3 separate regions of the Homo sapiens genome follow, and regions 2 and 3 are each linked to region 1. The links are contacts of gene promoters, found by promoter capture Hi-C in human tissues and cell types (Jung and others, 2019). All regions are on one chromosome and are shown on one strand. The core of a region is centred on a gene start or on the middle of the fragment in contact, and the rest is flanking DNA. Distances in the headings are between cores, read along the strand shown. Region 1 holds the start of MPPED1 (metallophosphoesterase domain containing 1). Region 2 overlaps MPPED1 (metallophosphoesterase domain containing 1). Region 3 overlaps LOC105373053 (a long non-coding RNA gene).

Region 1 (4,862 bases), core at 1,073-3,572:
GAGATGTGTCCTGTATAAAGTGAGCATACCAAGGCCCGTACTGCCTAGTTGGGAAGGTAGCAAAGTTCAAAGAAGAACAAATGAACTTAAGCCACATTCATTGGATGAAGATTTAAGAGTCTCATGGGTGAGCTGGGAATTTATTAAAAGCAGGCTTTTCAAGAACGATGATTCCCTACATCAGTCTGTGTATTCCTGACAGTTGGGGCTCAAGTAAAACACCCTAAAATTCTTATTGTTCGCCTAGATCTAAACCTGTCCTATCTGTCTACAGGCATAGCCCACGGGGCATCAGCCAGGGTGGATGTGAGTGATTCTAAGCGTACCACGGGGTGGTTACATCAGAGGTACCTCCTCGGCCATGTAGGTGACTCTCTGAACCCATCCACATCACCAGTACAGGGACCTCATTCAATCCAGGTCTTCCGAAATTCCTGGGGCCGAGAAATAAATAGGAAGGCAGTCCCACACTGAAACACTTCCGAACACACGATTAAGCCTCCGTGACTGGATTATCGCCTTTTGACTAGCCATCGCCCAATTAATGTACCTCCAGTGAGCAAGCACTAGAATCGATGGAACCATTCCACCGAAATCCATCTCCAGAAAAAGATTTTACAAGTGTTGTGGGGCTGCCACTCAGAAAGCCAATTTGCAAGGAGCCCAGCACGGTGAAGCGCAGTTTATCATGCGTGGTTCCCACACAGAGGGCCCCTGCAGACTGCGCCTGGCTCCAGAATGCCTCCCTAGCACCACAAGCTCAAACGCATTGAGGTTCTCCCCTGCCTCAGCCCGGCCGAATCCATCAGCACCCTCCCCAAATAGTCTCTTAGAGCCCTGGCTCCTGTACACCAAGATCTGGCTTCCGACTGGACGTGGCAGTCAGCTGGTGGCCTCTCCAACATCGCCCTGTGCCAGGTTTCTCACCAAGTTGGTTTAATTTTTTTTTTTTTTTTGCAAAGTCCAGTCAGATTATTGACAGTGCCTGTCTGCCTGACCCGCCCCCGCCCCCCGGCGCCGCAGATCCCTGCTAACAAGTCTCCCAGTGCCATTCAACTCCCGTGAGCCAGCTCCGCCATTCAACAGCCAGCCCACTTTTGTTCCCCCAGTTTAATTTCATAATTGTTTGCCACTTAACAAGCTCTCCTCTGGGCCATTCAATAGAGCAGGGGAAATGGGGAGGGGGAAGGCAAAGAAACTCTGGGAGGGGAGCTGGGAGCCAGGCCAGCCCAGCACTGGGGAAGAGACATCCCAGAGAGGTCAGCTGGACAGGGGTGGGGGCCAGTTCCGGAGTGGAGCCTCCTGACACCAACTGGGCCACCCAGCTTGAGCCCGGAGAGGTGGGAGGGAAAGGAGCAGGGTGAGTTCCGAAGGCCAGGCCGGGGCCTGCCAGACTCCTGGGCACATCAGTGCTCTGAATGACACGCCTCTGGCCCTGCCAGGGTGAAGGGAGACAGCATGAATTCACGCTCCCGTAACATGTCCCAGAACAAACACACAGGAGACAGAACTGCTCCTTAGTTTGGGCATTCCATGATCAACATTCCCTTTGAGGGCTGGGACCTGTCTAGGTAGCCACTGAATCCCCTGGCCGAGCACATAGCAGACAGGAATAAATATGTGTTGAGTGAGTGGATGGATGGATGGATGGATGGATGGATGGATGGGAGGGAGGGATGAATGGATGGAAGGAAATGGATGAAGTTTCCAGCAATACCTAGCAAAAGTGGCCACTCGGCCAGCGTTCGTTCCCTATCTCTTCCCCCCCAAGTGCCAGCAGGGGCTTGGCAGCGCACACAGTAGGCTCTCTACAAGCGGGGGCTGCTATTGTTACCACTATCATCATCACTGGCACTCCACCAGCCCGCTGCTTCCACCAGCTACTCCGCCAGCAGCAGCAGCGACTGGCGAGCAAGGGAAAAGTTTCGCTGACCCCGCGGCCCCAGCCGGAGTCCCGCGCCCTGGCGGAGCCCCCTCCCGCCGCCGCCCGCTAGGCAGGCGGGGCAGCTGGGGTGCCCAGCCCGCTTCCCGCACCCGGCAAAGGCGGCCAAAGTAACTTTGCGGGCGCCCCTGCGCAGCGCCGCGGGCGTCGCCCAGCGCCTGGAGAGGGTCCCGGCCGCGCCCCGCGCCCGGCCTCCCGCCCGCGCCCGCCGCGCCCCGCCCGCCTCCGGTCCTACCTGGCCCCGGGCTCCTCTTCGGCGGCCGCGGCGGCTGCGAGCAGCAGCGCGCACCGAGGGAGGCAGGGGCTCCCGGGAGGGAGGCGCGCAGGGGCGGGGGCTCCTCCGGCGGCGGCCGCCTCGCCGCGCGTCCGAGGCTGCAAGTGGGAGCCAGACTCCTCCTTCGTGGGGCGGGGGGCTCCCCGCGCCCCCTCCGCCGCCCGCCCGCGCGCCGCGAGGCTCCGAGCCTCCTTGGCTCCCCCCGCCCGCCGCCGCCCGCCTCCCCACGCCCGCCCTCCCCGCCTCTCCGCGCCCGGCCGCCGGGAGGGGCGCGCTCGCGGCCTCGGTCCCGGCCCTTGCGCCGCCACCCGCCGGGGCCCCCGCCAGGCCCGCCAGGCCTCGGCCCTCGGCCCCCGCCCGGGCTCGGAGTCCGCATCCCGCTGCGGAGGGACAGGGAGCGCGGCCGCGGGCCTGGACGCGGGAGGAGGAGCGGGGCCCGCGCTGCGGAAAAGGGAGGGGGCCGCCCCACTGCGCCCGGCGCCCCTCTTGGCGCCCGCCCCCAGCCCCGGACCGGGCCGCGCGCGGGCTGGGCAGGGAGCGGGGCGGGGGCGCTCTCACCTCCGGATCCGTGGCCTCCGCAGCGGGCACCGCGTGCAGGGGCGTGCGCGGCTCCTTCCGGGGCGCCGCAGCCTTCGCCCGAGGCCCGGACCCCCTCCTGGGGCCGCCGGGGCACCCTGCTGTGGGCCCCTCCCGCCCGGGGTCTGGAAGGTCCCCCTCCGGAGACGGAGACACTCTGACCCCAGCTCCCAGTCTGAATAGGTCGGGGTCCTCCTCCTGGGCCACCATCTCTTCCACTCGGGAGTCACAGGTCCCCAATCCCGGGCACAGCAGGTAGCCTGCAGCGGCCGGAGCCCCAACGGGATGGGTAAACAAGTCAGGAACTCAGACGGCGCGACACCCAGTGTAAAGAGGCCCTGCCTTGCTGGGAAGAGCAGAGACCATCGCCTTCAGTGTCGGGGGTCACCCTGGGGAGTTTAAGGCCCTGTGGCTTCCAGCCCCTTGCCGCGGGTGGGACGGGGATTCCAGGGCCTTGTATAGTTAGGGTGCAGATCACTCTGGCCTGGGCCTCCCAGACTGAGAGGAAGATGAAAAGGGGCTGTGGCTCCTCAGAGGCCCAAAGCCCCTCAACAAATGCTTGTAGGGTCTCCCTTCACCAACACACACATCACACAATCCCCAAGGACACCCTCTGCGGGCCCCTCAGGCCTATTCTGCCCCTGAGGACTGCTATCTGGTGTGGCTTCCTGGAGGTGGGGACAGCCCAGTTGAATGAGTGTATGCCAGGAGAGAAGGCCTGGAAAAGACATCCAGGCCGAGGGAATGCGGCATGCAAAGGCCTTGGCATGTGAGTTCATTGGGGCTAGAGACAAAGGAAAAGCAAGGGAGGGAAGATGAGGTGGCAAGGCTGGGAGTGAGGGAACAGAAGCCAGATCGGGAAGAGCCTTGGATAGACTTTATCAGGGGCAGTGGGAGCCATAGAGGGTTTTTAAGCAGGGCTGTGACTTGGTCACGTTTATCTTTTTACAGCTTGTTCTGGCACCTCTAAAGACAGAGGTAGAGGGGGAGAGGCTGGGCTATGGAGGGAGAGGATGGAGGCCTGGGGCCCTCAGGCCAGAGATGGGGGGCAAGGGCTGGCCGAGGAGTCCTGAGGCAGTCACCCCCTCCTGCTTCCTTGTCTTTAGACCCCAATTCTCTCTCAGGGAATCCCAAACTCAACCCGGGAGCCTCTTTCTCCTCCTAGGCTACAGGCTTCCTGAGCACCGTGACTTCGAGGGAGGTGAAGGAGAAAACTGTCATGCCTGCCTGGGAAGGCGGCTTGGACTCAGTGTCTCAGCAGACCCCACCTGCCGCCTGCCTGGGACAAAGCCACAGCTTGGCTGTGGCCTCTGGAGATCACAAAGGACAGTGACAAATGTGCCTTCCTGGTCCCTGGGTCGAGAGCAGAGGTTCCTGTGACACTTGTCCTCCAAGGCCAGCTTCCCCACCACCTCCAGTCCTACCAGAACTACCCTCAAGTCCCAGAGCATCATCTCTTACCTTCCCAGGGTACACATTTATTGAGCATCTACCATATTCCTGGCACTCGGCACTTGCTTTGAAGCCAAGCATGAGCTCTCCACCAGAGGGACCTGGTGCTACCTGCACCACCCAGTCCCAGGCGCAGAGCTCTCAGCTTGACCCACACTGTCTTATGTAGCCCTCATGCCTCCCCTGGGCCAGGCTGCATCCCAGAGGTCAGCCTCCCCAGCGCCTAGTGCTGCATCCCACAGGGCCTGGCACTCTGTAGGTGCCCAGGGAATGGTCCCTAAAAGATGAGGGAATGAGGAGTGTGGGATGGGCAGGATAGACCCACTCCTAAAAGAGCAACCATTCTGGCAAACACAGCACACATTCTGCTTTTGGAAAAATTTAATAACACAGTGGCACTTGTTCATGGAGACTAATAGAAACACCACACAATCCCACACTGCTAAACCAGCCAGGAGATGGCTCGTTCTGCTGGAAAACATTTCCTAGGCGCCTACTACGTGCTGGAGGCCAAGGCAGAGAAGGAAGAGAAGGAAGGCACTCTGTCATGGGAGAAGCAGAAGGTCAGCAGATACTCATGACACCAGGGAGAAGAGGGCAGCCCAGGGCAAGGAGAGC
Region 2 (4,862 bases), core at 656-3,155, 45 kb before region 1:
GAAAAGGAAACAATAGCAAAACCTCCCCAAATTTGATGAAAAACATTAATCTACACATCCAAGAACTTCAAGTAACTCCAAACATGATAAACTCAAAGAGGTCCACACCTAAACACATCATAATCAAACTGTCAGAAAGCAGACAATCACTCATCACACACAAATAATCCTCAGTAGCAGCTGGCTTCTCATCAGGAACCACAATAACCAGAAGGCAGTGGGATATACAAACGCTAGGAAGAAGGACTGTCGACCAGCAATTCTACATCCCGCAAAACTATCCTTTAAAAATAGAGAAATTAAGTCATTCCCAGATAAACAGAAACAAACTGAATCTGTCACTAGCAGACACTCTCTACAAAAAATACTGAATAGACTTTTTCAGACTGAAATGAAAGGGCACCAGACAGCAACTGAAATCCATATGAAGAAATAGAGAGCACTGGTAAAGGTAGCTACACAGGTAAATATAAAAGACAGTACAGGCCAGGCGCGGTGGTTCATGCCTGTAATCCCAGCACTTTGGGAGTCTGAGGCGGGCGGATCACGAGGTCAGGAGATAGAGACCAGACTGGCCAACATGGTGAAACCCCGTCTCTACTAAAAATATAAAAATTAGCCGGGTGTGGTGGCACGTGCCTGTAATCCCAGCTACTTGGGAGGCTGAGGCAGGAGAATCACTTGAACCAGGGGGTCAGAGGTTGCAGTGAGCCGAGATCACAACACTGCACTCCAGCCTGGTGACAGAGTGAGACTCTGTCTCAAAAAAAAAAAAAAGACAGTACAATTGTATTTCTGTTTGTAACTCCTTTGTTCTCCTATCCAGTTTAAAAGACAACTACACTAAGGAATACAGTCATGGACTGTTAATGACAGAGATGCATTCCGAGAAATGCACCATTAGGTGATTTTGATATTGTACAAACAGCAGAGTGTACTTACGCAAACCTAGATCATACAGCCTACTACATACCAAAGCTATACAGTACAGCCTATCACTACAGGCTACAAACCTGTACAGCATGTTATCGTACTGAATACTCCAGGCAATCGTAACACAATGGTAAGTATTTGTATATCTAAACATAGAAAAGTAAGTAAAATTACAGTGTTATAATCTTATGGGACCACTGTAGTATATGCAGTCTGTCATTGACAGAAACATCATTACACAGCACATGACTGTAGTTATAAAACTGTGTTAATGAGCTTATAATGCACAAAAATGTAATTTGTATGACAATAATAGCATAAAGGAGGGGGAGGGCATAGAACTCTACATTAGAGCACAGTTTTTGTATATTTATGAAATTAGGTTGCTATTAATCAAAACTAGATTGTTATAAGGTAAAAAAAATTTAATTATAATGCCCAGGGCAACAACTAATACAATTTTTCAATATAGTAAAAGAAATGAAATTAAAATAGTGAACTAGAAAATATCTATTTAACACAAAAGAAGGCAGTAATAGAAGAAAAGATGGACAAAAAATATATAAGATATATAGAGAACAAAAAGCAAAATGGCAGATATAAATCCTACTTTGTCAGTAGTTATATTAAACATAACATGCTTAAACAGTACAGTCAAAAGAAGGCAGAGATTAAAATTTTTAATTTTTTAAAAATCCAATTATATGCTGTTTATAAAAGACACACTTTAGATCCAAAGAAACAAGTGGGTTGAAAGTAAAAGAATGAAAAAGATATACAAACAGTATCCAGACGCCAAAAGAGAGCTGTAGTCGCTATACCAGCATCAGAAAAAAATAGATTTGAAGACAAAAATTGTTACTAGAGAAAAGGAAGAATATTTTATAATGATAAAAAGCCCAGCAACAGATGGCTTCACTGGCGATTTGTATCAAACATTTCAAGAATTAACACCAGTCCTTGACAAACTCTTCCAAAAAGCAAAAGAGGAGAAAACACTTTCCAGCTCAGTCTAGGAGGCTTTGATACCAAAACCAGACAAAGCTATCACAAGAAAAGAAAACCACAGACCAATATTCCTTCTGAATATAGGCTCAAAATCCTCAAAAAAATACTAGCAAGTCAAATCAAGCAACAAAGGATTAGACACCATATAAAAAGGTATTATACACCATCACCAAATGGGATTGAACTCAGGAATGTAAGGTTGGTTCAACATACAATTAATGTAATATACCGTAATAATAAGGGGGAAACCATATGATCATCTCAACAGGCACAGAAAAGCATTTGACAAAATAAAACACCCTTTCATGATTTAAAAACACATACACACACACACCGGGTGCGGTGGCTCACGCCTGTAATCCCAGCACTTTGGGAGGCTGAGGTGGATGGATCATTTGAGGCCAGGAGTTCAAGACCAGTCTGGCCAACATGGCGAAAACTCTGTCTCTACTAAAAAAACAAAAATCAGCCAGGCATGGTGCTGCACATCTGTAATCTCAGCTACTTGGGAGGCTGAGTCACAGGAATCGCTTGAACCTGGGAGGCAGAGGTTGCAGTTAGCCAAAATTGCACCACTGCACCCCAGTCTGGGTGACAGAGCAAGACACTGTCTCTAAACAAAACAAAAAACACGTAACAAACTGGGAATAGAAGAGATCTTCTGAACCTGACAAAGAGCATCTCTAAAGGTCCCTCAGCGAGCTGGGCATGGTGGTGCACACCTGCAGTCCCAGCTATTTGGGAGGCTGAGGCAGGAGAATCACCTAAGCCCAGGCACTCAAGTCCAGCCTAGGCAATATAATGAGACCCTGTCTCTAAATAAACAAATAAATACATACATATTACAAATCCCACAGCTAACATCATACTTAATAGTGAAGGACTAAAAGTCTTCCTCCTAAGATTGGTCACAAAACAAGGACATTCACTCTTGCCATTTCTATTCAACATTATGCTTGAGGTTCTAGCTGGGGCAATGAAGCATGAAAAAGAAATAAAAGCATCCAGAACGGAAGGGAAGAAATAAAACTGTCTCTATTCACAGAGAAACATGATCTTGTGGCCACAAATCAAGGAAGCCAAAGGTTGCCAACAGCCACCACAAGCTACAAGAGGCAAGGAAGGATTCCCTGTTTCCTCTCCCTCACCAGAGCCTCCAGAAGGAACACAGCCCTGCCGACACCTGAATGTCAGATTTCTGACCCCCAGAGCAGTGAAAGGATACATTTCTGTTATCTTAAACCAAGAAGCTTGTGATAACTTGTTACTGCAGCCTCAGGAAATTAACACAATAATCAAAGTGCTTGAAACCAAAGACAAGAAACTTTCAAGCAATTGGGGTGGAGGAAAGGGCACATTATCTTCAAAGAATCAACAGTAATGCTGATAGCTGATCATTCAACATGGAGAAATTACACTGAGTAGTTATGTTGCTGAGATTATGAATGGGTTTCCATAGCTTCCTGCAACAGATTCAAAAATGCTCTGAAAAGTATGTCGGAAACAGAAAATAGCTCTAGTGATGGCAGTTTCACCTGTTATAGGCTAAAAATTGTCTCCCCCTCCACAAAAGGAACATGTTGAAGTCTTAATCCCTAGTACCTCAGAATGGGATGGCATTTAGAGACAGGACCCTTAGTGAGGTAATTCAGGTAAAATTAGGTCATATGAGAGGGCTCTAATCCAATGACTGGTGTCCCTGTAACAAGATGACATTGACCTGGCGCAGTGGCTCACGCCTGTAATCCCAGCACTTTGGGAGGCCGAGATGGATGGATCACCTGAGGTCAGGAGTTTGAGACCAGCCTGGCCAACATGGTGAAACCCCATCTCTACTAAAAATACAAATATTAGCTGGGCACGGTAGTGGGCACCTGTAATCCCAGCTACTCTGGAGGCTGAGGAGGAAGAATCGCTTGAATCCCAGGGACAGAGGTTGCTGTGGGCCGAGATCACGCCACTGCACTCCAGTCTGGGTGACAGAGTAAGACTTCGTCTCAAAAAAAAAAAAGGACATGAAGGCAGAGAGGCAGAGAAGCTCATATGAGGACACAGTGAGAAGACAGCCATCTGCAAGCCAAGGAGAGAGGCCTCAAAAGAAACCAATCTGCTAATATCTCAACCTCAGATTCTGGCCTCCAGAACTGGGAGACAATAGGCTTCTGCTGTTTGAGCCTCCCAGTCTCTGGTACATGGTCAGGGAAGCCCTATCAAACCAACACAGTATCAATGCAGAAGATGCACTTGAAGAATCTGAATACAAATGTTTCATAAGATGTGAGAGAACAGAAATATATGTCTCAATCCCAGCACTCTGGGAGGCTGAAGCAAGCATATCACCTGAGGTCATGAGTTCGAGACCAGCCTGAGCAACGTGTCAAAACCCCATCTCTACTAAAAATACAAAAATTAGCTAGGTGTGGTGGTGTGCACCAGTAGTCCCAGCTATTCAGGAGGCTGAGGTGGGAGGATCACCTGAGCCTGGAAAGTTAAGGCTGCAGTGAACCATGATAGAGCCCTATAACTTAATAGTACCGGTGTTCCTTTAAGATGAAGAATTTTGGGAGGCCAAAGCAGGAGGATCCCTTGAAGCCAGGAGTTCAAGACCAGCCTGGGAAACATAGTGAGACCTTGTCTCTACAAAAATTCAAAAAATAAGCTGGGCATGGTGGCACATGCCTATAGTCCCAGCTACTCAGGAGGCTGAGGTGGGAGGATTGCTTGAGCTCAGGAGATCAAGGCTGCAGTGAACCAAGAACACCACTGCACTCCAGCCTTGGCAACAGAGTGAGATCCTGTCTCTAAAAAGAAGAAAATAGGCTGGGTACAGTGGCTCATACCTGTAATCCCAGTACTTTGGGAGGCCAAGGAGGGCGGATCACCTGAGGTCAGGAGTTCGAGACCAGCCTGGCCAACGCAGT
Region 3 (4,862 bases), core at 676-3,175, 39 kb after region 1:
GGGTGCCCACATATTTTGCTAAACATTATTCTAGAATGTGTCTGTTGAGGGTCCTCCCTGAGGAGATCAACATTTGACTCAGTAGCCTGAGTAAAGCAGATGGCCCTCCCCAATGTGGGCAGGCACCATCCAAATCTTGAGGCCCTGAATAGAACAGAAAGGTGGAGGAAGGGCAAATTTGCTGTGTGCCTGACTGCTTGAGCTGGACGTGGGTCTTTTTCTGCCCTCAGACTAGGACTGACAGGAACCCCATTAGCCCTTGGGTTCTCAGAGCTATACCACCAGCTTTCCTGAGTCTCCAGCTTTCAGACAGCAGATTGCGGGACTTCTCTCATGAGACACACACACACACACACACACACAGTTGGTTCTGTTTCTCTGGAGAGACTTCATACAGAAGTGGGGAAAAAAACAATGGAGCAGTTCAAGACATCCATTTATTTATTTATATATTTTATTTTATTTTTGTAGAGACGGGGTTTCACCGTGTTGCCCAGGCTGGTCTCAAACTCCTGGACTCAAGCAATCTGCCCACCTCAGCCTCCCAAAGTGCTAGGATTACAGGCGTGAGCCACTGCACCCAGCCTACATCCAGTTAACAGAAGGTCCAGAAAGACCAGAGAAAGTGGGGGAAGAGATTAATAAATAATTTGGGGAGTTTTTCAAAATTAAAGGACCTAAATTTTAAAAAGTACAAGGATCCACCAAGTACTTCTTCAGGCAAGCCATAAAAAGAGAGCCCTAATATGACACATCATCATGAAAAATGAGCCTCCAGGATGAAGAGAAGCTTCCAGGAAGAAGAAATGGCAGGAATAGCTCTGGACTTCTTGACAGCAACATTGACAGCCAGCAGGTGCAGGAGCAATGCTATGAAATGCTGAAGGAGAAGTGTTTCCAACCTAGGTTTCTTTGGGTGGTGTTGTTGTTGTTGTTATTATTGTTGTTTTGAGACAGAGTCTCGCTCTTGTCTCCCAGGCTGGAGTGCAGTGGCACAATCTCAGCCCACTGCAACCTCCGCTTCCTGGGTTCAAGCTATTCTCCCACCTCAGCCTCCCGAGTAGCTGGGACTACAGGCACGTGCCACCATCCCTGGCTAATTTTTTAATTTTTTGTATTTTTAGTAGAGACAGGGTTTTACCACGTTGCCCAGGCTCGTCTCGAACCGCTGACCTCAGGCAATCTGCCCTCCCAAAGTGCTAGGGCTACAGGTGTGAGCCACCACGCCTAGCCCCAACCTATATTTCTTTACCCAGCCAAGCTATCAGTCAAATGAGAGGATAGAATGAAGAGATTTTTAGACATGCAAGGTCTTGAAACACATATAGTCAGTCCTCATTATTCTTGGATTCCATATTTTTGAATTCATTTAATCAATAAAATATATTTGTAACCACCAAACTAGTATCCACACAGCTTTTGCAGTCATCTGCAGACATGCGTACAGCAGCAAAAATTTGAGTCACTTGATGTGCATGTTTCCAGCTAAGGTTGAAAAAGGTGACCCTCTGCCTTCTTGTTTTGACTCTGATGATGTAAACAAGTGTCCTTTTTGCAGTCTAGTTAGTGTCATGTTTTTCATATTTTTTGTGCTTTTTGTTGATATTTCACTGGATTGTTTTTTGTTTTGGTTTGGTTTTGCTTTTGGCTTTTTTTTTTTTTTTTTTGAAATGGAGTCTCGCTTTATCACCCGGGCTCGAGTGCAATGGCGCGATCTCAGCTCGCTGCAACTTCTGCCTCCCAGGTTCAAGCAATTCTCATGCCTCAGCCTCCCGAGTAGCTGGGATTACAGACATATGTCACTACACTTGACTAATTTTTATATTTTTAGTAGAGACGGGGTTTCACCATGTTGGCCAGGCTGGTCTTGAACTCCTGACCTCATGTGATCCACCCACCTCAGCCTCCCAAAGTGCTGGGATTACAGGCATGAGCTACTGTGCCTGGCCTGGATTTTTTGGTTGTTGTTGTTTTGTTTTGTTTTGTTTGAGACAGCGTCTCACTCTGTCACCCAGGCTGGAATGCAGCGGCGTGATCTCCACTCACTGTAACCTCCGCCTCCCAGGTTCAAGCAATTCTCTTGCCTCAGCCTCCCTAGTAGCTGGAGTTGCAGGCAAGCGCCACCACACCTGGCTAGTTTTTGTATTTTTAGTAGAGATGAGGGTTTCACCATATTGGCCAGGCTGGTCTTGAGCCACCGTGCCCAGCTGATTTCACTGTTTTAAATGACCCCCACCCCCAAGCGCAGTGCTGAAGGGCTGTTGATATGGTTTGGCTGTGTCCCCACCGAAATCTCATCTTGAATTCCCACGTGTTGTGGGAGGGGCCCAGTAGGAGGTAATTGAATCATGGGGGTAGGTCTTTCCCGTGCTGTTCTGGTGATAGTGAGTCTCACGAGATCTTATGGTTATTATAAGCGGAATTTTCCTTTCCTCTTTGTCTGCGACCATCCACGTGAGATGGGACTTGCTCCTCCATGCCTTCTACCATGATTATGAGGCCTCCCCAGCCACATGGAACTGTAAATCCAGTTAAACCTCTTTCTGTTGTAAATTGCCCAGTCTCAGGTAAGTCTTTATCAGCAGCATGAAAATGGACTAATACAGCTGTCTAGTGTTCCTAAGTGCAGGAAGTCTGGGGTATGCCTTACAGGGAAAGCCCACGTTAGAGAAGCTTCGTTCAGGCAGGAGTTAGAGTGCTGTTGGCCATGAGCTCAGTGTTAATGAGTCAACAATATATATTAAATAGGGTATCTTTAAACAGAAATATATATAAAACAAAGTTATGTGTTGATCAGTTGGTGACAACACTGTGACCCCAGACTCATAGGAATGGAACCCTGTATTTCCCTCTTGGAGCATTGGCTTAGTGTTGGGTAATTCAGCATTTTTGGTGACTTTATAGACCGTAACTGGTGTGAATAATGAGAATAGACTGCTTTCCTTACATGCTTTCTCTGAAGATTACTAGAGAAGATACTTCACTAGAATAAGGGCTAAATCAAGAAAGAGGAAAATATGGGATATGGGAAAAAGAGAAAGGCAAGGGGGATCCCAGGTTGCTGGAGGCGGGATGCCCTATAGGCATGGGGCACCAGGCTCCAGCTTCCCTGGGCAGATGGGCGTGAAGACCCCAGTGCATCTCGAAGCCCTGCGAGGAAAGGGCAGGACTGAACTAGCAACAATTGTCTAGAGAACGATGCAAAGGAGAAACCACGAAAATGATTTGCTGGGGTCGGGGTAGGGAGTGCGACTGTGCGGAAAAGGTTGACAAAGAGGACAGTCATTTATTTGCTGCTGGAAGCCATTTACATGAATTGACTCATTGAAAGCAAGGCCAGGTAGAAGGCAATCAACCAAGAGGCTGAAGAATTTGTCCAGGATCACACAGCTAAGTGGCAGAAGGAGGACTAGAACCCGGAAAAGTGGCTTAGAACTCCATGCCCTTCACCACTGACAATGCTGGTGTCCTAAAAACAGGTCTGAGGGTGGGGGGCAGGTGCGCACAGTGAGTAGGGGTCAGGAGGCAGCGATATCCTCACCTTCCAGAAACAGAGGTCAACCAATGAGGCTGACAACTAAAAAAAAAAAAAATCAAGATGGAGTCTCAGAGGCCAGGCAGAGTGGCTCATGCCTGTAATCCCAGCACTTTGGGAGGCTGAGGCAGGCAGATCACCTGAGGTCAGGAGTTCAAGACCAGCCTGAGCAACATGGCAAAACCCCACCTGTACTAAAAATACAAAAATCAGCCAGGTGTGGTGGCGGGCGCCTGTAATCCCAGCTACTCAAGAGGCTGAGGCAGGAAAATCACTTGAACCCAGGAGGAAGAGATTACAATAAGCCGAGATCATGCCACTGCACTCCAGTCTGGGCGACAGAGCAAAGACTCCGTCACAAAAAAAAAAAAAAAAAGATGCAGTCTCAGAGGCAAATGACACAGGGTAAAAACAAAATAATTGGTTAAAGGAGGTGAAATAGTTGCCTCTGGGGAGGGGACAGGAGGGGGTGAAGGACAGGAACAGGGAACTGCTGTTCCTCTTAACAAACCTTGTAGAGCTATTTGCCTGTATAAGTTTCATGAAAATAAAAGCTAAAAATAAAGAGAAGAAATAAACACTGTTCCCGGATCCTAGACAGAGCCTGCAAGCCAGGGCTGCCAGGTGAGGCCCCGGGGACGGGGTAGCCATGGCTTTTCCTGTTTGCCCTGGAGACTTTGTCTTTGACTTGGGAGACACCCTCTGGCCCTCCAACACCAAGCACGGTGGTTGGGGGTTGGGGGTGGTTCCCCGTGTGAGTTACGGCCCCAGATTGGTTGACGATCCCAGCAGGGAGGGAATCGCCTGCCTGTGGAAGACCCCAGCTGCACCAATCTTCCTGCTCATTCAGGGGCTGCTGGGCTTGACCTATCGATGTCAGTTGCAAATGAGGGGTCCTCCCACAGCTGCTCAGCCAGCCCCTCATCTGAGACCCGTGCTCCAAAAAAGAAGCTGGGGCGGCAGAGGGCTGTCACCTCACACGCTAATGACATGGGCACGGACATAAGAGGCCCCCAAGAGACACACCAAGCACCTGAGGTCACAGAGACAAAGTAGAATCCACAGAGCAGTGGTGCCCCAGGGAGGCAGGAGACCCTCATCCCATCTCCAATCCCACCCTGGTCCCCACTCCCCAGTCCAGATGGGACTCCCTGCCTCTTTCCCAGATGTCCCCCACACTGACTCACTGTGGGCGGCAGCTTTTACGTAAGAGGGCCAAGTGATGGCCCCCACAACAGATCATCTGAGGCTGAGTATTAGACACCACTGCATATCCACCACGCCCCTCTTTTTCTCTTCCTGTCAAACTCAGTAATGGAGACAACCT

The links. Contacts are between HindIII fragments. The study calls those that stand out against the background at their distance.
Region 2: a fragment that was not itself captured here is called in contact with the fragment with the promoter of MPPED1 in region 1 in 2 of the 25 tissues and cell types used here (aorta and dorsolateral prefrontal cortex).
Region 3: a contact is called between a fragment that was not itself captured here and the fragment with the promoter of MPPED1 in region 1, in 8 of the 25 tissues and cell types used here (IMR-90 fibroblasts, adrenal gland, dorsolateral prefrontal cortex and 5 more).

Annotation. Positions count from the first base shown.
Region 1 is chr22:43,409,474-43,414,335 of GRCh38, reverse strand. It overlaps MPPED1 (metallophosphoesterase domain containing 1), which reads right to left and starts at 2,322. Exons shown (of 7, transcript NM_001044370.2): 1 at 2,178-2,322. LINC01639 (long intergenic non-protein coding RNA 1639) reads right to left here. Exons shown (of 4, transcript NR_146918.1): 4 at 4,655-4,862. The HindIII fragment of the contact is 18,974 bases long and covers 1-4,862 here.
Region 2 is chr22:43,454,206-43,459,067 of GRCh38, reverse strand. The region is part of intron 3 of MPPED1 (metallophosphoesterase domain containing 1); the gene reads right to left. Among named protein-coding and RNA genes, the nearest start is that of MPPED1, 45 kb to the right of the region's middle. The HindIII fragment of the contact is 9,403 bases long and covers 1-4,862 here.
Region 3 is chr22:43,369,642-43,374,503 of GRCh38, reverse strand. LOC105373053 (a long non-coding RNA gene) reads left to right here. Exons shown (of 4, transcript XR_938288.3): 4 at 472-510. Among named protein-coding and RNA genes, the nearest start is that of LINC01639, 28 kb to the left of the region's middle. RefSeq lists an enhancer at 4,370-4,862. The HindIII fragment of the contact is 5,607 bases long and covers 1-4,728 here.